2 separate regions of the Homo sapiens genome follow, and region 2 is linked to region 1. The links are contacts of gene promoters, found by promoter capture Hi-C in human tissues and cell types (Jung and others, 2019). All regions are on one chromosome and are shown on one strand. The core of a region is centred on a gene start or on the middle of the fragment in contact, and the rest is flanking DNA. Distances in the headings are between cores, read along the strand shown. Region 1 holds the start of RET (ret proto-oncogene). Region 2 has its middle 36 kb from the start of MIR5100.

Region 1 (2,928 bases), core at 283-2,782:
GGAGCTTGTCTGTAGCCAAAAGATGCCCCCAGCCCCTCCCTACCTATCAGGTCCCTTCCCTGGGCACAGGCCTGAGTGTGTAGCCTAGGTAGCCACTGGCACCAGAGATGGAACCTGTCTGAACCCAAGGGAGCCCCTTGTGGCCAACTCTAGCTCCATAAACTGGAAGGGTGTGGCAGGCAGCCGGAGTCCAGTGGCCCACAGTGTCTCTCCTGGGCTGGCAGGCCTGTGCCCCGGCCACCTGCCCCTCAGCAAGCCAGGTCTGGACATCACGGTTGGCTGAGTGCAAGCCAGCCTCTGTCTTGGCAGCTCCCCCTCCTGCCTGTGAGGGTGACTTCACTTTGACTTCATATCTGCAGTGATGTGCAGATCACTTATTCAGCCCTGAGCTCAGCCAGGCAAGAGGGCGGGGTTCTGCACACAGCAAGCAAGGGAGCGGCTGGCTCAAGGGTGCCCTGGGCCCAGGTTCCCTGGCTTTTCCTCCTCAAGGGCCCATGGGCTTCCCTTCTTCCATCCCTCTGCGCCTAAGTGCAGGCCAGACCTCAAAAAGCAGCCGGGGATGGGGCGAGAACAGAGGACTTCCCCACTGAGCCCACATCCAACCTCACCCAGAACCCCTTCTCAGGTCCAGTTGCTGCTCCCTATTAGGGGTAAATGTGTTTATGCGCATCATTTCCATCATTTCTTTGGGGGAAAATTGGATTCTTTCCTCCTCCTCGCTACTCGCTCTCCGACTCTGCCAGCCCATCTCCTGAGAGTTCTCCTGTGTAAGGGATGCAAGGGCCACCAGCACCAGGTCTCTGAAAGGACGCCGGAGCCAGTTTCCGGTTTCCAAGGGTTGGACCAGTGCTGGAGGGGGGAATCACAAACTGCCCTTCCAGGACCCTACCCTCTCTACTACCCCAGGATGCTGAAAAAGGCTATTCTGCCTCTCTTCCCCTGCTCAGCTCTTCCCCGCCTCCTGCCTCCGGCCCCAGCAGAGGCCGCGCTCCCACTGCGCCTCTCGCCTCTGAGAAATGGCGCAGCAAGCGCTCCGCGGAGAGCCTGGAGGCGGGGCGCCCTTCTCTGAGTCCGCGGGGTCGCACCCCGAGCCAGTCGGCCAGACCTGCATCCCGCGTAGCATCCCTGCCCTCTCTGTGCAGCGGAAAGGGCAAAAGGCAGGGACTGCAAGCGGGCGCGCACCGGGTAGGAAGAGCGGCTCTGCGTAGGTGCGCGGACCCGGGCTCCTGGGTTCCATCCCCGCCGCGCACCTCGGGGTCCGCACCCGGCTCCTGCCGGGCCCTTTTCGGCCGCACCCCGCTCCCGCACCCCGCTCCTCCCCAAGCCCCACCCGGCCCAAGCCGCGCGTCCCGCACTGAGCTCCTACACGCGCCGCGCCCCGGCCGCACCCCGCGCAGCCAGAGCAAGCACTGGAGCCCCGCCCCTTCCCGCACCCCACCCGCCTCCGGCCCCGCCTGGCCCACCCCTGGACCGCCCCCGCCCCGCCCCGCCCCTACCCGCTCCTCCGGCGCAGCCGGCGCTTACCTCGCTTCAGTCCCGCGACCGAAGCAGGGCGCGCAGCAGCGCTGAGTGCCCCGGAACGTGCGTCGCGCCCCCAGTGTCCGTCGCGTCCGCCGCGCCCCGGGCGGGGATGGGGCGGCCAGACTGAGCGCCGCACCCGCCATCCAGACCCGCCGGCCCTAGCCGCAGTCCCTCCAGCCGTGGCCCCAGCGCGCACGGGCGATGGCGAAGGCGACGTCCGGTGCCGCGGGGCTGCGTCTGCTGTTGCTGCTGCTGCTGCCGCTGCTAGGCAAAGGTGAGTTCTGCCGGCCGCCGGCTCCCGCAGGGGCCAGGGCGAAGTTGGCGCCGAGCAGCGGAGCGGGCGCGTTCAGAAGCGCCTTTCTGTTTGCCGTGGGCAGCGGGCTGTGCGGTCGCCGGCCACCCGGCCTCGGCTGGGAGCGCAGTGGCTGCGGCGGGCGGCGGGCGAAGGGCAGGACGCCTCGGGCCGGGCGCCTCGGGCCGGGGCTGGGCGGGTCTCGGGCGGGAGCGGAGCGCGGGCCGGGCCGCGGGGGTCGGTGCTCAGAACCCTAGCCATAGCCGCAGGTCTCAATCTGGCCGCGCCCTGCGCCAAAGCCGCGTCCTGGAGCAAACGGGACAGCCGTTTCGGGGCCGACCTGGCGGACGGGTCAGGGAGCCCCGAAAGCCCGCGATTCGTGCGGAGAGTTCTGTTTCGGCAGGAGACGGCTCCGTCCTGGTTTCCTTTTCCCGCTCAGCGTCCGTGCGTTCCTCCCCCAGCTCTGCCGTCCTGGCCAGCCGAGGGATTCGGAGGCTCTTTTGAAAAGATTGCTTTTCCCTCGTGCGTTTTTGCCGCCCTGTCTTTAAACACCTAAAAACCGTGGTTTCTGGGGTGGCTCCCCCCGAGGGGCCGCCGTGATAGGCGTCCCACCCGGCAGCCCTGGAGTCGTGTGGCGCTGCCTGGCAGAGATGCTGAAGATGCGGCCATAGGAGGCCCAGGGCTTGGGGTGGGGCAGGGGTTTGCGCCGCCAGCCAGCGTTGGTGCTGGGCCTGGTGAAACCTCAGGTGCCTTAGGATCCCAGCATTAGGTGTGGCCTTGCAAAGATGGTCATCGACCCCACCCAAACTCTGGCAGAGTGAGCCGCAAGGCTGTGGAATCTTTGACCCCTTGGCACGCGTTTAAGTGTCCCTCAAACTGGCCCTGACTTGATCCCCTCCAAGCGCTTGTGTATGAACCAAGTTTCCCTCTAAGAGGGAAGGAGCCCTGGCCATCCTCCCTCACTCCTTACAAAGGGCTTTCTCTCCCCACAGCCTTTGGGAACAGAAGAAGCCATGGTCAGTCACCCTGTCTCTGGCCCCAGGCCCTGCACAAACTGAGTTTCCAGGCCTGCCTGAGACTTCATTTGTGTGACCTGCGCCTCAGCTCAGCATATG
Region 2 (2,774 bases), core at 242-2,741, 43 kb before region 1:
ATAATTCAAAACAATTCTATAAATATCCTCAAAGAGCTAAAGAAAACACAGATAAAGAAATGAAAAGAATCCAGAAATTTATATAGAATCAAAATGATAATATTAACAAAAAGATAGAAATGATAAAGAACCAAACAGAAATTCTAGAGCTGAAAAATGCAATAATGAATTGGAAAATTCACTAGAGGGGTTCAACAGCAAACTTAAACAGGTAGGGACTTGAAGACAGGTCACTTAACACTAGTCTGAGGAGCAAAAAGGAAAAAGAACGAAGAAAAGTAAACAGAGCCTAAGAGATTTATAGGACACCATAAAGCCAACCAATATATGCATAATAGGAGTCTCAGAATGAGGAGAGAGGGAAAAGGGTAAAAGAGTTTACTTGAAAAAGTAACAGCCAAAAACTTGCCAAACTTTTATATCCAAAGAAATTGATATAAAAATACAAGAAGTTCAACAAATTCCATTAGGATAAGCCCAAACAAGCCCACAGAAAGACACACTATAATCAAGCCACATTATAATCAAACCTTTGAAAGACAATGTCAAAGGGATAGTCTTGAAAGCATCAAGAGAAAAGTGACTCACCAAATACAAGAGAGCCACAGTAAGATTAGCAATGATTTTCCTAGAAGAAGCCCTGCAGACCAGAAAGCAATGCAGTGATATATTTAAAGTGCTGAAAGAAAGAAAAAGCTGTCAACTGAACATTCTATACCTAGCACAACTGTCCTTTTAAAATGAGGAAGAAATTAAGATATTCTCAGATAAACAAAAGCTGAGGGAGCTCGTTACCACTAGACTTACCCTACAAAAAATATTAAAAGGAATTATTTAAGTTGAAATTAAAGGATGCTAAATAGTAACTCAAAGCCATACAAAAATATAAAGTTATGCAATAAAGCTAAATACATAGACAAATATAAAAACCAGTATTATTATCATTTTGGTTTGTAATGCCACATTTTATTATTTTATAGAGTTTATAAGACAAAGGCATATAAAATAATTATGGATCTATGTTAATGGGAACATATATAAAGATGTAATTTGCGACATACCTCAATAACATAAAATGGGAAGAGCCAGAAGGTTGTAGAGCTTTTATATTCAATTGAAGTTCATTTGTTATCAGTTTAAAGTAGATTGTAATAACTTTAGGAGTTTTATGTAATTCACATAGTAATAGTAAAGAAAATATCTATGGAATACATACAAAAAAAATGAGAAGGCAGCCCTGATGTATGGCACATATATATTTATAATTGTTATATCTTTTTGTTGAATTGACCCTTCTATCATTACGTAATGCCCATCTTTGTCTCTTGTAACAGTTATAAGCTTAAAGTATATCTTATCTGACATTAATATAATCACGCTTGCTCCTTTTAGTTAATATTTGCATGCAATTTTTTCCCATTATTTTACTGTCAACCTGCACACATGTCCTGTGCCCTTAAATCTAGTGCATTGTAGACAGTATACAGTTGGATCATAGTTTTTCTTTTAATCCATTCTGCCATTCTAGGTCTTTTAATGGGGGAAGTTAATACATTTACATTTAATTAATGTAATTAATAATAAAGAAGGACTTACTATTGCTGTTTAGTAGTTTGTTTTCTGTATGTCTTATAGCTTTTTTGTCCTTCATTTCCTCCCTTCCTGCCTTCCTTTGTGCATAGCTGACTTTTTGTATTGACATCTTTTGAATACCTTCTTATTTCCTTCTATATGTATTCTATAGATATTTTATTTGTGGTTACTATGCCCAACACCACTAATCATTAGGAAAATGCAAATCAAAAACCACAGTGAGATACTATCTCATACTCATTAGGTTGGCTACTATTTAAAAAGCAAAAATGAAAATAAAAAATGTTGTCAAGAATTTGGATTGGGATGTAAAATGGTACAGCTGCTGTAGAAAACAATATAGCAATTCCCCCCACCTTCTCCAAGAATTACCATATGATCCAGCAATTCTGCTTCTGGGTATATACTCAAAAGAATTAAAAGCAAGGACTTCATCAGGTTTTTATACACCTATACTCATATCAGTGTTATTCCCAATAATCAAAAGGTGAAAGCAACCGTAGGGTTCACTAATAGATGAATGGATACACGAAGTGTGGTATATCTGTATGATGGAATATTATTCAGCCTTAAAAAAGAAGTAAATTATGATACATGCCACAACAAGGATAAAACTTGAAGACATTATGCTAAGTGAAATAAGCAAGACACAAAAAGACAAATATCGCACAATTCCATTTACATGAGGTGCCTAGAGTAGTCAAATCCACAGAGAGAAAATAGAATGGTGGTCGCCAGGGGCTGGCAGGGGGGAGAATGAGGAGTTGTTGTTTAATGAGTATAGAGTATCAGTTTGGGAAGATGAAAATATTCAGAGCTGAATGATGGTGATGGTTGTACAACAATATGAATAATGTACTTAATGCCATTGAACTGTACACTTACAAATAGTCAAAATGGTTATTTTATGTTATGTGTATTTACCACAATTTTTTAAACAGCTTTTGAAGTAAAAGATAAAAATGAATTAGATGACTGACTCGGATGAGGAAACCAGCTGAGCTAAGGAAAAGATGAAACGACTGTAATGAAACAAAAAGACTTTTCTCTGCTGAATACCAAGGGGCTTAGGGAAGGCACAGCTCCTCCTTAGGTGAGGAGTAGAATGAGCAAGGAGCAGAGATGTATCACTGGGGATCTGCACCCAAGGAGGCAGGTCACACAGTTGAGGTTCACACTTT

The links. The method cuts DNA at HindIII sites, captures the fragments that hold promoters and counts their contacts. A contact is called where the count stands out against the background at its distance.
Region 2: a fragment that was not itself captured here is called in contact with the fragment with the promoter of RET in region 1 in 2 of the 25 tissues and cell types used here (liver and mesendoderm cells).

Annotation. Positions count from the first base shown.
Region 1 is chr10:43,075,537-43,078,464 of GRCh38, forward strand. It overlaps RET (ret proto-oncogene), which reads left to right and starts at 1,533. Exons shown (of 20, transcript NM_020975.6): 1 at 1,533-1,795. The coding sequence starts at 1,723. RefSeq lists enhancers at 590-856, 722-1,579, 1,888-2,878 and promoters at 1,072-1,755, 1,457-1,755. The HindIII fragment of the contact is 24,069 bases long and covers 1-2,928 here.
Region 2 is chr10:43,032,548-43,035,321 of GRCh38, forward strand. No RefSeq gene overlaps it. Among named protein-coding and RNA genes, the nearest start is that of MIR5100, 36 kb to the left of the region's middle. The HindIII fragment of the contact is 4,891 bases long and covers 1-2,774 here.